6 separate regions of the Homo sapiens genome follow, and all the other regions are linked to region 1. The links are contacts of gene promoters, found by promoter capture Hi-C in blood cells and fetal thymus (Javierre and others, 2016). All regions are on one chromosome and are shown on one strand. Each heading gives the region's core, a stretch centred on a gene start or on the middle of the fragment in contact. The rest is flanking DNA. Distances are from core to core; before and after follow the strand shown.

Region 1 (2,833 bases), core at 232-2,731:
TAAAATCAATGACCATGCTGAATGCCTACAAATTACAAAATATAAAAGAAATCTTATAAATGCGCATGTACAGGAGTCTAAGTTACTAAAAGTTTTAAAGCATAAGTTTAAACCAAACTAATCAAAGAAGTTGAGAGGAAAAATTGGCTTTCATCTTTAATCACTACTGTTTTGAGGTCCTATGTTTAATATAATTTTCTAAGTAGAGGCTTCAGAGAGAAGAGTTGTGAGGATACTTTCATATTTGTGTAGAAGGAAAAGTTTGCCATCCATTCTAGTATCCCTAGTGTTATACTGATGTGCACCTTGGATTTATTTTGTTCCTATTGTATAAACTCATACTTGACTTCAAAGAAAAGGAAAATCCAAAGTCCCTCTTTTCTAAGGGGACAGAAATCCTTTGTGTCAACTGTTTGACCCTTTTCTCTGTAAGGTCCTATTGGAAATCTTTTGTAACACAATGCAGGGGACTCTTCCATGTGTTGATGCTGTTTACACAGTGGGGTGGGCCTGACTGAAGAAAAAAAATCGCATATACGCATGAAAGATTATGGTCTTATTTCCGGAAAGCATGAAAGGTGATTGATACTTCCAAGAAGTCCCTGTTACTCAGGAAAATTATCAAATATTCTACTCAGAGATACTTGGAAAGACTGAAGGAAAGGAAGAACGAAGAAAGCAGAATCTAGACTTATGTGGGGAGAGATTTGTGGCAGAGGAAAAGTATTCTCTTTGAATCCGACAAGGGATTTGCCTGGGGGAATTTCCTGTCCAGCCTTTTATTACCAGGGTCTTTTGAAGCCGGGCTCCCCATTGGGCAGTTCCCTGGGAGTGCAGTGGGGAATTCTTACACTTTCCCTCTAGGTCCCCGAAGGATCTCGTTTTCTCAGTGTCTCTTTCAGGTTGGCAGGAGCCTTGAGCCTGACACTTCCCTTTGATGGGACAGGCAAGCTCTGTGGGCGCGTAAACACGCTGTAACCAAGTTCTTTGCTGATTTTACAGTTTTGTGTGCTCCCGAGAAGAAGTGATCGTACTCAATTGTCTATTGCTGGCCTGCCCCCTAAGAGCCTGGGGGCTCCTTTCCCCTAACCCAGAACTAGCTGCACGGGGGGCGGGGAAATGGGGGTGGGGAAGGAGTGGGAGGGCAGTGGTTTCCGCGAGCAGAGCGATGTTACTGAGTGAGTCCCTGAATGGGGAGCGCTGCTGTCCCCAAGCCGATTGGTACTTCTTGTCAGGAAGAAACGCCAAGAGGTGGGAGTGCCTGGGGAGGGAGGCAGGCGGTCCCTACCGCAGGCGCGGGGAGCTGCCTTTCCGCCCCTCCGCCTGCTTTCCAAGCCTGGACTCTTAGGAGTGGCTGAAGCTGCGGAGCGCTTTTGGAGCCTGTGAATGAACCCTCCTCCTCTCCCTCCTCCTTCTTCTCGCTGAGTCTCCTCCTCGGCTCTGACGGTACAGTGATATAATGATGATGGGTGTCACAACCCGCATTTGAACTTGCAGGCGAGCTGCCCCGAGCCTTTCTGGGGAAGAACTCCAGGCGTGCGGACGCAACAGCCGAGAACATTAGGTGTTGTGGACAGGAGCTGGGACCAAGATCTTCGGCCAGCCCCGCATCCTCCCGCATCTTCCAGCACCGTCCCGCACCCTCCGCATCCTTCCCCGGGCCACCACGCTTCCTATGTGACCCGCCTGGGCAACGCCGAACCCAGTCGCGCAGCGCTGCAGTGAATTTTCCCCCCAAACTGCAATAAGCCGCCTTCCAAGGTAATCACGTTTCTTTTGTTCCCCCCTTAAAAAACAAAAACAAAAAACTTATAGAAAAAAACCCGCGAGCTTAGAAAAAAGAAGCAATTGGTAGAAGGCTTTAATTAAGGCAAAGAGCTGTAAGGCGAAGTTAAGAAAATGTAGGCACTTAAAAAATGCAGGTAACTTTCATAAGGGCTTTTGGGGAGAGGCATACAGAGGGACCTTGGTGTTGAAAAAGATTCAGACAAAAGAAACCCAGGGTGGGGTGGGGGGTAAAATGACTAACGGAATTGGGGGAAGGGAGGGAATAAATTGTAAAGAAATCATAGAAAAGTGGTGGGTTCTTGAGCTGGAGAGAAGAGAGGGACCTTTGGCACTTTGATTTTTTTGTTGTTGTTGTTCTTAACACGCTCGAGGCAAAAGTTTGAATGGGGACTACCAAGACTTGCCACAGACAAGTCCCCGAAGCCGCCTTGGTGCAGGCCACCTGGTTTCCCAGCCCCTGGTGTGTGGTCAGTGCCTGGTGTTCCTGGAAAGCCACTCCCGGGCAGCTCCTGACAGTGCGACCCGGCGCCCAAGCAGCCTGGGACCTTGCGCGGACCTGACCCCTTCAGACCGCAGGCAGTCTGGGAGGAGGTCCGGCCGGGGGAGGTGCAGGATCCCCGCCGTGTCTCTTTGACGACTTGGGGACTGTCACGGTTCTCTCCCGGCGCCCCTGGGTTCTTTTGTCCTGCACGCGGTGCGAAGGGGCCAGCAGGGAAGGAGCAGAGGATGGGGGGTGGGGTTGTTGGAGCCCCGCGGAGGTCTGGGAGGCCCCTGGGCGGGAAAAGCCTGTTCTGAATCGGCAGGGATGTGCAACAATTTTTCTCACCCTGAAGAGTGAAATAGGGTCTGTCGCTCCCATCTCAACAAGCAAACCGGCACCCAGAGCGCACTGCAGACAAAGGTGGCTCGGGGACCCGAATCAGGGGCCTCTGGGTCAGTCCTCTCGCCCAGACTACAGGAGTCCTCCGTTTCCTTACATATTCCCCACCCTCTCCTAGTTCTCCGCTCTAGTTGAGCAACTTTACTGGCAGGTCTAGCGGCAGCG
Region 2 (2,833 bases), core at 188-2,687, 1.2 Mb before region 1:
CTCACGCCTGTAATTCCAGCACTTTCGGAGGCCGAAGCAGGCATTATCACCTGAGGTCAGGAGTTTGAGACTAGCCTGGTCAACATGGTGAAACCCCATCACTACTGAAAATACAAAATATTAGCTGGTGTGGTAGTGGGCGCCTGTAATCCCAGCTACCTGGGAGGCTGAGGCAGGAGAAATGCTTGAACCTGGGAGGCTAAGGTTGCAGGGAGTCTTGCGCTACTGCACACCAGCCTGGGTGACAGAGCTAGACTGTCTCAAAAAAAAAAAAAAAAAAAAAAAAAGTCTGGGTTAAAATGGCTCTACCATCAAATATGATAGAACTATATGAAATTATTATTTTAAAAAGTCAAAACCAGTCAAATACTGGCAGTTTCATGTCTCAATCTTAGGTGTATGACCTCAATTAATTCTGATGCAAGTCACTTCTCTTCACCTTAGTTTTATCAAGTCGATAAAGTTCAATAGCTGACACGTGCCATTTACTTATAACAACTCCCACAGTAAAGGTGTTTGTGTCCTTTACTTCATCATTGCTAGTATCTTCTCCAATTCCTTCCAGGCCAACGTTAAATTAAAACCTTAACTACCTAATTCCCAAAAACTAATTTTACCAACTTTTAAATAGAACAAACGCTTTGCAATTTTACCCCACAATGCCCAAATGAATACTACTACACAAAAACCTGCAATTACTTTCAAAACAAGAATTCGTAAGTTCATGTCTCGAATTCCTATAATAAACTAAAACTTGACGGGAGCAATGGACTTACACTTTTTCCAGCACGATTCCTTTTGCATGAGAAGCACCTCCAAAAGGGTTGGCCTTTAGGGCTGTGCCCAAATGAGCTTTCTTATACTGTTTATCATGCCACTTCTGGTCTCGTCGGTGACTACGGAGCTTCCTAGCAGTACGAAGTCCACGACACTTGCCTAAAAATTAAATATTTTAGTTCTTCCGTAAAAACACGCCATCTACGTGTTTCCCATCTTCTAAGACACTCGCCTCACCTGGAATAAACCCTTAAGCCGATTGGCTCTCGTACTATTTATTGGCCTGTGGGCCAAACATTTGGCCTTCAAGTTGCCCTGAACCGACTAATAAACGTTCGAAGAGGGCTCCGGAGAATGTGTTCTCCCGAAGGACGAGGCCCCGCTCGAATGCCCGGGAGGAAGCGCTGGCCTCCCTGCGTCCCTCGGTACCCCGACCTCGGCGGCCTCCACGCCTCATGGGCCCCTTCCGCGCCGGACCACGTGCCTCCTGGAGCGGCGCTTCCCCGGCCCTCCCCCATGGAGCCTCTCCATGGCATCCCCCGCCCTACTCTATTCGCATCCGCCCGCCCGTCCCCAAGACCCCAAGTCCCGCTTGCAGCGCCCTTAAACCGGCCACAACAGCTCACCCATCCTGTCGGCGCCACGGGCCTGAGCGAAAGAGAGAAGCACCGCAGGAAGGAGCCACAAGCCACCGCGAGCAAGCCCCGCCCAGCCAAGGACCCCGCGCCGCTGTCTGCGCCGCGCCTGACCCGAGGCTGGGGTCTCTCCTTTGAAAACGACGCGTTTGCATCACTTTCCTGAGCCAGAATCTGCGTCTTATTTAATTTGCAAGAAATTCAGAGATATCTAATTTGCATGGTTTTTTTTCCCCCTTTTTCTTTTGAATGCTGGAGACCGGAGGAACATGGACTACCAATCCCAGAATGCGTTTTATGGGACCCGCTCACCGCGCAGGCGCTCTTGCCCAAGCCACTGAGAGCGGGACGCGGGGCTAGGTCAGAGTAGGAAGGAGTCGCTGAGCTGAATCTTTGTGGAGTGGAGTGGGGCGAGAGTCCTCCGAGTAGTCTGGAAAATTAGACTTCTGAGCCTTAATTCATACTTATAAGCAGCTAGTAAATTGTAAAATATAGTGAAGCAATGTAGTGTAGTAACTAAAACCCCAAGCTTTGGAGCCAGATTGGGCCTTTAACCCTAAAGTTGCCGTTTATTTTGACTGGCGAGTCATTTACTTATAGATTTATTTATTTTTATTTTTATTTTTTTCTGAGACAGGGTCTCACTCTGTCTTCTAGGCTGTTGTGCAGTGGTGCGATCTTGGCTCACTACAACCTCCGCCTCCCGGGTTCAAGCGATTGTCCCACCTCAGCCTCCTGAGTAGCTGGGATTACAGGCTTCCACCATCACGCCTGGCTGATGTTTGTATTTTCAGTAGAGAGGGGGTTTCACCATGTTGGCCAGGCTGGTGTCGATCTCCTGACCTCGAGTGATCCGCCCGCCTCGGCCTCCCAATGTGCTGGGATTACAGGCGTGAGCCACCGCGCCTGGCCATTTAATTAACTCTTTAATACTGTTTCTCCTGTAAGATGAACTAGCTGTGAGAGGTTTCTGGGATATTGGTTCACTCAGCAAGGATGTTTAAAAATGCCTTCTATGTGCCAGACGCTGTTGTAGGTACCGGGAATATGGCGGTTAAATTAAGAGGGTGAAGGTTTCTGCTCTGATACAGTTTATATTCTAAATGTGAGAGGACAGACCAGTTAGATAGATGTAAATTAAATAATTAAATAGATGATTTTTACATACTGTAGAGCTATAGAGAAAATATAGCTGGATGGGTGATAGTGACTTGGGGATGGGGGTGGCTACTCTGGATAGGGTAGTTTAAGGTGACATCTCTGTGCAGATGTAGAATGGGCTAGTGCTTTCTAAGAACTGAAAGATCAGTGAAGAAGGGGAGCATAGTGACTGAGGAGTAGTGTGGCATTAGATGGGGTCTGAGAGTTACACAGGAACATGTGGAGCCTGTAGGCCATGGTAAAGCCTTTTTCTACTCTTC
Region 3 (2,833 bases), core at 242-2,741, 1.2 Mb before region 1:
ATATGTGCTGTGTGTGTGTGTTTGTGTTTGTATGCATATAGAGAGGATATATACACACACAAACTCAAGGATATATATAATAATTTATATGCTCATAAGTTTCCAATATAACTTTTTGGTAATTGAGTCAGTCTTTTTTTTGAAAGGCTGGATGTTTTGGCTTTGATAGGTTAACAATGCAATGTAGTATAAAATTTCACTGTAAAATGTTTTATATGCTTTATTACTTTGTTATTTTATATTTGTTATTGGTTAAACCTTAGCGTGTAGCACATTGCTTGGCACATAGTAGGCCCCCCCATAATATCATTCAATGAATAAGAATCAGGTTTGATTTAAAATAATTTTTCTGGCTGGGCATGATGGCTCACACCTGTAATTGCAGCACTTGGGGAGGCTGAGGTGGGTGGATCACCTGAGGTCAGGAGTTCAAGAGCAGCCTGGCCAACATGGTGAAACCCCATCTCTACAAAAAATACAAGAATTAATAGGGTGTGGTGGTGCATGCCTGTAATCCCGGCTACTCAGGAGGTTGAGGCGGGAGAATCACTTGAACCCAGGAGGCAGAGGTGGCAGGGAGCCGAGATCACACCACTGGACTCCAGCTTGGGTGACAGAGTGAGACTCCATCTCAAATAAAATAAAATAAAATAAAAATAAATAAAATAATTTTTCTTTCTAAAATTTTTCTTTATTTTTCATTTTCTTTTTTGAGGAACATATGTTACTTTCTCTCTCTGTTAAATGCAGAGACAGCAGGGGAGAGACATATTACTGTTTAAATGGGAAATTCACTGTTAAGAAATGAACAGTTTTGGCAGGCTGTTTCTGCTCCTCTATTCTGAGATGTAATAAAGTGAAATATACTTCTTAAAATTTCGTGTAACATCTAAATTATGGATATTTATTCAGCATCTTTTAATTTTTTTTTTTTTCTAATTTCAGTTCTCCAACATCTTCAAATAAAGAAGTGGTTATGAGGAATGGTAAGACTCCAGTTGCCCACATGATTCCTTGTGGGGTGGAGAAGGGCTTTTTCTGTGATAGAATTCCCTGACCAGTGGTGTCTGTACCAGGAGTCACTCATGTGAAATCTTTTATACTAGTGCATCATAAATTATGAGCCAAAAGGGGCTCAAGCTTGATATATGTGACAGTGCTTAGCATTGCTCCCAATTACATTAATAAATGACATTTAGCATTTGGTAACCACATCATCATTTATTTGACAGATCAGAATAATGGAGATATGAAACCATTCCAGAATTTCACAACAATACCAATCACACAGGTATGGCTATGTCAGGAAACCAGATTGTAATCTAGCTCTAAAAAACTTAAAAACACATTTCAATCATGTCTGTGCTCTGTGAAAATATAAATAATAATTGTATTAATAAGTAACATATTTTTGCTTCAAATTTGGGTGGGGAAACATATTGTGGAATCTCTTCTTTTTAAAAGTCAACTTTTATTTTGGATACAGAGGGTCCATGTGCAGATTTGTTACGTGAGAATAGTGCATAATGCTGGAGTTTGCGGTATGAATCCCATCACCCTGATAGTGAGTATAGTATCCCATAGGTGGTTTTTTAACCCACTCCACTCCCTCCATCCTCCAGTCATCCACAGTTTTGATGGTTTGCATATTTATGTCCATGTGTACTCAGTGCTTAGCTCCCACTTATAAGTGAGAACATGTGGTATTTGGTTTTCTGTTTATTATGGAATCTTATAGTTGGGAAAAACCTAAAATACTTAATTTTACTTGCTCTCTTATATTTTCATTACAATATTCAGCTTCACTTTTGTTGCTATAATAATAATAATCTTTAGTTACTGATAAGCTTAAGTTGCTGCTCTCTATTAACTAATTTTTCTTTTATCTGTATTTACACTAGAGTAATTGGTGCAAATTTCTTTCTTTGTATTGTACATTTTGTGGGTTTTAATAAATGTGTAATGGCATGTATTTATCGTTACAGGATGTGAATTAGCTCTTTCATTTCTAGGAAGCCTTTTGTAACATAGACACAAATTCATCTCTTATGTTCTTTTTATTTGGTTAATTAGGCTCTCAACTACAATCTGAGCAAAGAAGGGCATTTAGAAAAAGAACCTTGGAATGCATTCAGCCATCATGGCCCAGTTAATGTCTCCATCAATGGAATTCCTTGCATTCTCTTCTGGGCCAAAAGAATAATGATTAAATTTAAGAATCAAACCTGGCTGGACCTTACAGACGAGCCATTTGGTCAGAAGGTAACTGTGGACCCTGACAACTCAAATTGCAGTGAAGAAAGTGCTAGGTAAGTTGATCTCTCAGTTTGAGGAAGCCCCTAGGGCTATTGCGTTCTGTTAACTCTGCATTCAACTTTTTTTGTCATTTCAGAAAAAAAAAGTAGGCTCCTTTGTATAGGACCCTGACACACATCTTTGAGGAAGTATTTACTGTCTAAAATAAAGGAACAAGTCAGAAGTTAACTTCAAAAATTGTTGGCTGGGCATGGTGGCTCACGCCTGTAATCCCAGCACTTCGGGAGGCCAAGGGAGTGGATCACCTGAGGTCAGGAGTTGGAGACAAGCCTGGCCAACATGGTGAAACCTCGTCTCTACTAAAATACAAAAATTAGCCGGGCGTGGTGGCAGGTGCCTGTAATCCCAGCTACTCAGGAGGCTGAGACAGGAGAATTGCTTGAACCTGGGAGGTGGAGGTTGTGGTGAGCTGAGATCGCGCCATTGCTCTCCAGCTTGGGTGACAGAGTGAGTGAGACTCCATCTCAAAAAAAAAAAATTGTTATATTTTCCCGGCAGTTTTCTTCTGAACCTTTTT
Region 4 (2,833 bases), core at 180-2,679, 1.1 Mb before region 1:
TGACTTCTAAGACACTGGAGTAGGCCATGCACTGATGCCAGTATTGAGTGCCAGGAATTATGGTAAACTGCTTCTGGAGATGTTTAGGGTATGTTTCAGGAGGTCGGTGACTTTCGTTGCACCTAAGAATCTTGTCTTTCATTAGTGGATAAGATAGTAAACATAACCAACCGACATGGTAGTTAGGGTCATGCTGACTGCAAGTTTGCCTCACCTTTTGTAAGTAAGCACAGAGCCATGGATGAGTTATGCTGAGGAACTGGGTTGCAGGAACTTCTATTTACCCACAAGATAGTTTAAAACATTCAAACTGAAGTTACAATCCCCATGCTCTCTTCCTCAACGAACAGACATTCTTCTAGTGGAGACGCCAACCTGATTCCATCCAAAGCCAGTCTCATTCCTAGAATAGCTAACAACCACAGCTAAATATTTCCCAAGTAAACCCAGCTAAGAATAGTTCCTTATTTCGAGAGCTCTGACACAAGAAACTCAACACCCTGTTGGAGTCAGATAAGCTGAACTTTTTTCAAGAGCTTTGTCAAAGTGAGACTGAGGAGGATGGAGCCTGAGAAAAATCCAGACTGAGCCTTGTTAGACTTTCCACATCACCTATAAGGTGGTATCGAGTGAGGCTGCATTAGACTCAAAGTGCCTTTAGGCATGACTAGATGCTGAACTGACTGTCAGTGCCTTGGGCACCAAAAAGATTGACATTAACTCTGACCAACACTCACATTAAACATTCATTCTTAATATTTTGCAGTTCTTAAATGTTAGTACTGTCTGACATCTCTCCCACTTGTTCTACTAAAAGTTGCTGGAAAGCCGAAGCTCTGTTTTGCTTCTTTAAGCCAGAAAGACATGTTTATTTCTTAAGAGGTTCAATTTATGAGGGCTTATTATTAGTCCCAAAATATATTACTGGTTTGCCATTGATATGGTACTGGATCTCCTTTTCTTTCTTTTTTCTTTTTTTTTGAGACAGCGTCTTGCTCTGTTGCCCAGGCTGGAGTGCAGTGGCAGGATCTCGGCTCACTGGAACCTCCGTCTCCCGCATTCAAGTGATTCTCCTGCCTCAGCCTCTCAAGTAGCTGGGATTATAGGCATGATCCACCATGCCCAGCTGATTTTTGTATTTTTAGTAGAGACGAGGTTTCCCTGTGTTGGCCAGGCTGGTCTTAAACTCCTGACCTCAGGTGATCCGTCCGTCTCAGCCCCCTAAATTGCTGGGATTACAGGCGTGAGCCACCGCACCCGGCCTAGAACCCCTTTCTTAAGGACCCTGAGTGGGCAAGTATAAAAATCATCCCATTCTTATTAATGAGAAATAGAAGCTTAGATGAGTACTGACTCATGGTTCATATTTAGCAAATGACAGATCTGGGACAAGACCCCAGGTCTTTGGATTTCCTTTTGTCATGTTCCCATGACTCATGCCATGCCCACGTGCCTAAATGTCCAAGGCCTGCTCACCCCAGCTATTCTTATTCGTGTGTCTGTTTTAGATTGGCAAGGAAAAAAAGCTTTCTAACTTTTCTAGGAATGGGTCTCAACCCACAGCATAATATTTGAGGCAAATATCCTAATTTTCCCCAGTACCAAAAAAGATCATTTTTATATTTCTTATACAAGTCTCCATATCCATAAGCATGTCACAGTATTCTTTGACTAAGGCACTGACTCTATTGTTTCAGCATGGCTGCATTTGTTTAACATAAATGGTTTGCATTTAGACTGCCTTGCGCTTTCTTCTCCGGCCTAAAGTATTTCTTCCAAGCTAGAATGCTTTTTCTTCTTTGGCATCCATTAAAAATCATTGGCAACATGGCCACGTTCCAGAAACACTTCTGTAATGCCAACCACAGGAATTGATGTCTAAAAATAAGAATTGAAAAATAGGTTTAAGTTAATGCCCAGAAAGAAATATTGCCATGTGTCTTTACTGAAATTTGGTAAAATCCATACTAGAGAAAAGTGTGAAATACATGAAACCCTTATTGCTGCTTCCTGTAAAAACCTTGGCAGAGTAGTTAGTGAGAGCTCATCCTTTTTCATCTGTCTCTCTCCTATTAGCCACTTTTCATTCTTGACTTAAGGTTGTGTAAGTTCAGGAGAGATTCTTACTCTGTCTGGAACCCATAGCTGAGCAGGCTTCCTGGGAAGAAGCTGGGCTCCTCACTAACTAATGATGTCCCAGCTCTTGAAGTTTCTGTTTTCATTTGGCCATCATTTGTTGCTTCCTTTATGGAAATGATTAAACTCAGCAAATGATGAAACATGAAATCAAATAGTGTGGGCAGTTTAAAACTGGTTTGAAATACAGTGTGGAAACTAAAAAAAAAAATTAATATTAACTATCTGGGATCTACCTACTCCTTCCATCTAAAATTCCATTTCAGTTCATTCCATGAGAATAATTATACCCTGAAATAAACCATTCTTATTTGTCTTTTATAAGTCTTTACTCAGCTTTCCCCTATATTTTTCATCTTACTTCTGATTTTCAAACACACAGTCCAGTGATAAAGCCCTATACGCAGTCCAATCACTTATAACTCATGAAATGCATCATATGTTGCCAGTCCTTTATTTCTTCCTCTTTCCCTCCCTCCCTTCCTTTCCTTTTTCCTTTCCTTTGTGCACACAAACTATAAGAAATTCATAGGGCAGGCTGCTAGGAATTAGCAATAATTACAATGACTTTTTCTAGAAGATGTAAAAATAAAAATCAGGCTGGACCCAAAGATGAGACAATAGACACATTTAATTTGTAATAATGACTGACTTTTCTTTCTTATTGCATTTTCAAAGCTTTTTATGTGGTTGGAGA
Region 5 (2,833 bases), core at 152-2,651, 1.1 Mb before region 1:
CTGAGCTGAAAGACAATTTACAAGTTGGCTGATAAGACCTTGAAGAAAGAAGATATTTTAAAACTTTAATTGAAAATCCCCATTCCTTCTCATTGAAGAAGCAAAAGAAGAAACTATAATGATGGACACTCTGGTGCTAGTATCAGTCATTTTGATCACAAGACGTGGACCAGCCCACCTTGGAGCTCACTGTGGTGGTGGCCTGGTCCTAATGCAAGTCCTAATGGAGCTCTTGGAACTGGCTGTAGCCTTTGCTGAGCAGGAGCAACTATGTCTCTGGTTCTTAAGGATTGAAAAGGTAAGGTTGCAGTTCTGGATGCTGGCATTACTTCAGGGCAACACACACACACACATACACACACACACACACACTCAGTACTGTAAGTCATCCTTTCTCTCGTAGGGGAAGATGTGTACTTTTTTTTTTTTTTTTCTTGAGATGAAGCCAAACTGAAGAAAAACGAACAGAAAAAAGAATCACAGGCCCACAGCTTACATGTCATTCATACAGGCAGGATTCAGGGCCTCGGCTTCTGCCAAAAGAAAAAGACATTCTACACCCCTATTTCTTAATAATAAATAACGATTTCTACAGCAACAAATGCTTTTAACTCTGCCCCCATCTCTGCTCTATGAGCCTTGAAGGCATTGCAGTTTGAGACCTGCGAGTTGGACCTTTGTCTGCCTGTACTTTCTGAGAACTCATGTAAGAATGAAAACACACACATATACACACACACACAAACACAAAAAACAACAAACACCAAAGCATTCTGACATGAAACTCTGGCGCCCATTTCTCTGAGGCAGTACATCATTTTAAAGCTTTTAATTTCTAGAGTAAGGAGTACATTAGTTGTGCCAAATGAATATTCAAATTGCAGGTACTCCAGGATTTATGCTGATTCTAACTTTGAGGGTTGCACTTTTGAGTTTAATTTTGTCTTGTTTTAAGCATGGGAGTGAGGGGAAATACAGGAGTGCACAAGTAGGCAAAAGGGCAGGCATGATTGATGGCCATAGAAAGTCCTGACAAATTTGTAGTCAATATTGTTTGTCTAGAGAGGATTGTGTGACAAAAGAAGTGTCAGCAGCCACTGAAGTCTCATTCTTCAGGACCCAGCCTCCGAGTTAGAATAGGGGGCTTGAGTGAAATGCCTGTCACGCTTAATTGGAAAAATCACTCCAGATGAGTGAGAGAGGCTGACAGTTATGCATTACAGAGAGAATTTAGTGTGTCTTACAAGGTTGATACAGGCACCAAAAGTGACTGGCTTTAGCTTTTCCCTATTAGGACGGCCACTAGAAGGATAAAACCCAAGAAAAGAAGCTACTTCTTGCTTCAGATTCACAAGTGCTTGTAAAAGACTTCCACCTTCATTACTTTCATTGTCACGCCGGTCTTTACCTCAATTCCTTTTTTTTTCTTAGGTTTTCATTCTGTCCTGGCTTTCTTAAATACCAGGGACAATTTCACTGGGCATACAGTGGAGAAAGGGAAACCATAGACTTACTCATTCTCTCTCTGTCTCACTCTTTCTCTATCTCTCTCTCTGTCTCTCTCTCTCAGTGTGAATGTTTGCCTGTCTTTGTGGAATTGGTAATGAACATTTCCAGCCATTACTTCCAGTGCACAAAGGCTAAACTCACTTTGTCATTTGATAATTTGTTTATCTGTCAGCATCTCTCACCCTGAAATGATGAGGCTTTGGGAGAGCTGTGGTTTCTCATCCAGGTGAAGTCTGAGAGCCTATGGTTCTATAAGGGCTAGAGAGTTTGAGAGCGGAGATGGATAACTTGTTCTCTGAGTCCTGGGAGCCCGCTGTTTCAGGGCTAGCACCACCAACATTTGGATGCTTGGGTGCAATTTGGTCATGGGTCTCTTCAGTTTAATTTTCATCTTCCTGTTGGGTGTCTCAGCATTTGTCTCTGTGATCGCATAGATTTTTGAGAGGCTGAGGACGGCTGCTTTGCCTTGAAGCTTCTGAGCCTGTTTGGCCTCCAAGACTTCAGCCACCAAGTTGTTACACAGCAGTGCTTCCTTTGTGTTGTCCCTTGGTGATGTGTTGTGGTTGGTGGCATTTATGAAAAGGATGTGGCCTTAAAGACTGCTTAATTCCAAACTTGCATAATTCAGGCCATATCCTGAACTCAGTTTTACTGTTCATTTGGCCTGCCAGCCTTAAAATTCTTTGATCCTCAGAAAGAATTTAAATTTGAGGCACTTACATTACTTCACATTTTGAGTGTGAAGAGACTATATGAATTTTTCATGTTACACTATTTCGAATTTGTGTAAAATATGGCCATGTTAGAATAGTCTATTGGGGTTTGTGACTGTTAACTCTTACAATTCTTAAAAGTATAATCTAATTCATGGAGCTAAGTTCCTAAATCCTACTCATAGAAATGTGAGTGTAAATCTTTTGTAGATGAGTGGGTAAGCTAACAAGACTTGGAAAGTATTTTGAGGTAAATGTTAGGGCTATTATTAATATCTTTATATGGCACAGCCTGAAATGCCTCAGTAACAAATTAATTTAGTTGAATTCAATAAAGATTTATTTAGTACCTACCAAGGGCCAGCCCAGCAGAATAGTAGACATTGGAGCTACCACATGGATCAGGAATTGAAGTCAGTGAGTTGAACTCGAGGACCCAAGAATGGTAAACTCAAGCCAGCCATGTGTGACCTTTAACATTGCAGAATGTATTTATCTTATTCTCTTACCTTTTAAACTTATTCTTTCATGAAGAAACACATAACACTGCCAATTGAAGTGAGGAGAAATGTAAAAGTATTTCAGACATTTTTGAGAATGCCCAGCGACAG
Region 6 (2,833 bases), core at 95-2,594, 1.1 Mb before region 1:
CTTGGATCTCTTTACTGTAAGAAAAATTCTTCTTTTTTGGAAAATTCTTTTTGTCTCTTCAGTGTCTGTGGCCATCTGAAAACGTCCACATGATGCCAGACCATGCTTTACTCTGAAAATCCACCGATAAGGTTATTTGACCTCTTTCTCTCTAATTTCACAGTGTCAGTCTTTGAGCTGAATAATTTCAAACAGATTTGACTCCCAAGAGACCTTTTTCTTTGTGGAGCAAACCACGAAGAAACACTTGAATAGTGGGTGAAATGACGAATACTCTAAACCTCACAAACTATTAGGAATCAATTTCTCAAACATCATACCTAATTATTCTCCCTCCCCCATTTCAATTCAGGAATCTCAAGGTTAAGGAAAAGCAGCTGAAAAAACAGTATTCTTGGTTGGGTTCATGTACTGCCCATTTTTCGTTTTTTTATAACTGTAGGATAGAAAGGAGAGAAACTTCTAAAATCTGCCCCTTTAATTGCCAAAAAAGAACACTCAGAGAAAGAAAAGTTTGTGCTATTATGCAGAGATGATAGTGTTGGCAAGAATCATAGAGACGCCTCTTGTTTAGTGGTTCTCAAAATGTGGTCCTCATGGGGACACCAGGGGTTTTCTGAGTTGGGAGGGACGGAAGAAGGAAGGGCAGGTGATTCAGCTGCTGTGGTGGCCCCATGGCCAGGAGGGAGAAGTGGATTCCACAGAGGCTTCAGTAGAAGGCAGAGAACTTGCAGGTGATGCAAAGATGTGTTTGTGAATAATCACACCGGGTATGTCAGTGCTGTCCTAGTATTTGTGCCTGTGGAGGTGCAGAAGCAGCAGATGACAGTGAATGGAGGGCACTTGGAATTAGAAGGCAGGAATAGGTAGTTTCAGTGCTCAGCGGGGTGGGTAGTCTTTGGGCCATTTCAACAGGTCCAAGATGTGTAGAACAAATAGTTTAAGAATTATGCATCAGTCTAGGCCTTGTTCTGTGTGTAAAGTTATTCAAGACAGTCATCTGAGATAATTTGAAGACCAAGAATAGGTGCCACATCCACACTTTGTAGGAAGTTTAATGGTTGAGCTCCTTTAGAGTCAAAATTCATATATAATATGTCATATCTATCATGTAATTTCAAAATTCGTATATAATATGTCATATGTATCATGTAATTCCTGCTGAAGTGTAAGACTCCATTTCTTTTGTTAGGTACGTTGAAGATGGAGAACAACTGATGTCAAGACACATTTTGGTTGTAAGGGACAGAAGTCCAACTCCAACGAGCTTGCCAAGGATGGAACCTGCTGGCAAACATAACCAAACTTTGGGAAGGGCAGGGTATGGTTAACCTCAGGTTTCTGGAAGCAGAGTGTACAGTGCTGTGCCGTCCCTCTTCTCTCTGCTTCTCTCTGCGTATTGGCCCTATCCTCTCAGTGGGGCACCCTCCCTGAGCAGCGAACAGCAGCCACAGGAAGCTCCAGTGTCAATGCCTCCCACAGCTTTCCAGAGAAGCAGCAGCCTCTTTGTTAGCTCCGTATCAAAGACATCCACAGGCAGGGCTTTGTGTGACCCAGTTTGGGTCACGTCTTTATTTGGGGCCCGGAGGAAATGGATACAATGACTACAGCCCATCATAGAACCTCATGTTTAGAGGACCAAATTTCCTCTCTCCAAAAGTGAAATGTTGTCACTGTCCATTCAACTGATGAAAATCTTCCTTTTCAACAGAAAAACTATCATGATGTTGTCTGTTGGGCTTCAGTTTCTTACAGCAGTCATCTTAAGAATTAAACTGGTATGGATAATCTGACTATGAACTCCTTGAGGGCAGGGACCATATTATATAATACTTCTGTGTCCTCTGCTATTTCTTAGCAGAATTTTGAAAATGTGCCAAGTGTTGACTTGGTTCGATCACTTGTGAGAATGGAGGGACCCATAATGTTAATAATCAATGAAGGTTGTTGGAGTTACTTACCCAAAACCTTATGAACTTAGCCTTCCCTAGCAGATTTAGTTTCGTAATTTGTCCGGTATAAGCAAACACTAAAGAGGGATTGGGGAAAGTTGTGAGTTGAGTAGTTGGGAAAAAGGTAGTTTGCAGTTTTATTTACGTCTCACAGCTTGACATTTTTTGTTTGCCTTGGAGGGGGTACTTTTAAAAATTCCTCTTTTGAAAACAATAAAATCTTAGATTTTGGATAACAGATATTTCTGTACTATATACCTCACTTAAGATTTTCAAAGTAATGTTTAAAAGTGCCTTTTATATTTTTTCATACCACATTGTAGGGAAGGCCAGGGTCATTTTTTAACACTTAACTATGCTCAATACCTCCTCACCACTATAAAGTAAGGTCGAATGTTGGTTAAAGCAAAGCTGTCTGGAATCACCCTGTCAAAAGTACTGATTTATAACCTTGCTACTCACATTTCTTACTGTGGTGCCCTCCCTCTTGTTGGCTCCTGCATCTTTGAAGTACAGGGAAAATGAACTAATATGGCAGCTCCAATATGCAGCTAATCCTGCCAATGATGTCTCCCCTGGAAGTGTTTGAGAGAAGAATTTCTTTTCCCAGTATGGATTTATGTAAACATTTGTTCCATTCACGAGTAGCACATTAATGCCTAATTCTGGAAAAAATACAAAGAAAAAACCTTTTCTGCCTGTCTAGACAGAGTCTTGTTAGTGTACGTCTGATCATATGGGTACTCATGCCGGTAATATTAATTGGTGGGAAATGAGCCAAGGAAAGACAACCCTATCTACCAATTAAATTTACTGAGCTTACAGGGTGGTTTATAAAGTCAACATGCTGGGCAAAGCTTACATCTGACCAGGGAAATTGT

Evidence for each region. Contacts are between HindIII fragments. The CHiCAGO score rates a contact against its expected background, and 5 or more counts as called.
Region 2: the fragment with the promoter of RPS23 here is called in contact with the fragment with the promoter of VCAN in region 1 in 1 of 17 cell types (fetal thymus); the score reaches 8.0 in fetal thymus.
Region 3: a fragment that was not itself captured here is called in contact with the fragment with the promoter of VCAN in region 1 in 3 of 17 cell types (endothelial precursors, M2 macrophages and fetal thymus); the score reaches 7.4 in endothelial precursors.
Region 4: a fragment that was not itself captured here is called in contact with the fragment with the promoter of VCAN in region 1 in 2 of 17 cell types (fetal thymus and megakaryocytes); the score reaches 7.9 in fetal thymus.
Region 5: a fragment that was not itself captured here is called in contact with the fragment with the promoter of VCAN in region 1 in 5 of 17 cell types (megakaryocytes, fetal thymus, endothelial precursors and 2 more); the score reaches 13.0 in megakaryocytes.
Region 6: a contact is called between a fragment that was not itself captured here and the fragment with the promoter of VCAN in region 1, in 3 of 17 cell types (endothelial precursors, fetal thymus and megakaryocytes). The highest score is 6.0, in endothelial precursors.

Annotation. Positions count from the first base shown.
Region 1 is chr5:83,470,263-83,473,095 of GRCh38, forward strand. It overlaps VCAN (versican), which reads left to right and starts at 1,482. Exons shown (of 15, transcript NM_004385.5): 1 at 1,482-1,761. RefSeq lists an enhancer at 1,911-2,783. The HindIII fragment of the contact is 5,577 bases long and covers 1-2,833 here.
Region 2 is chr5:82,276,917-82,279,749 of GRCh38, forward strand. It overlaps RPS23 (ribosomal protein S23), which reads right to left and starts at 1,438. Exons shown (of 4, transcript NM_001025.5): 1 at 1,404-1,438; 2 at 777-936. The coding sequence starts at 1,407. It also overlaps the pseudogene ATP6AP1L. RefSeq lists an enhancer at 1,429-1,758. The HindIII fragment of the contact is 8,285 bases long and covers 1-1,939 here.
Region 3 is chr5:82,302,542-82,305,374 of GRCh38, forward strand. It overlaps the pseudogene ATP6AP1L. Among named protein-coding and RNA genes, the nearest start is that of RPS23, 26 kb to the left of the region's middle. The HindIII fragment of the contact is 707 bases long and covers 1,139-1,845 here.
Region 4 is chr5:82,334,586-82,337,418 of GRCh38, forward strand. No RefSeq gene overlaps it. Among named protein-coding and RNA genes, the nearest start is that of RPS23, 58 kb to the left of the region's middle. The HindIII fragment of the contact is 189 bases long and covers 1,336-1,524 here.
Region 5 is chr5:82,359,098-82,361,930 of GRCh38, forward strand. No RefSeq gene overlaps it. Among named protein-coding and RNA genes, the nearest start is that of RPS23, 82 kb to the left of the region's middle. The HindIII fragment of the contact is 1,156 bases long and covers 824-1,979 here.
Region 6 is chr5:82,384,333-82,387,165 of GRCh38, forward strand. No RefSeq gene overlaps it. Among named protein-coding and RNA genes, the nearest start is that of RPS23, 110 kb to the left of the region's middle. The HindIII fragment of the contact is 2,926 bases long and covers 1-2,807 here.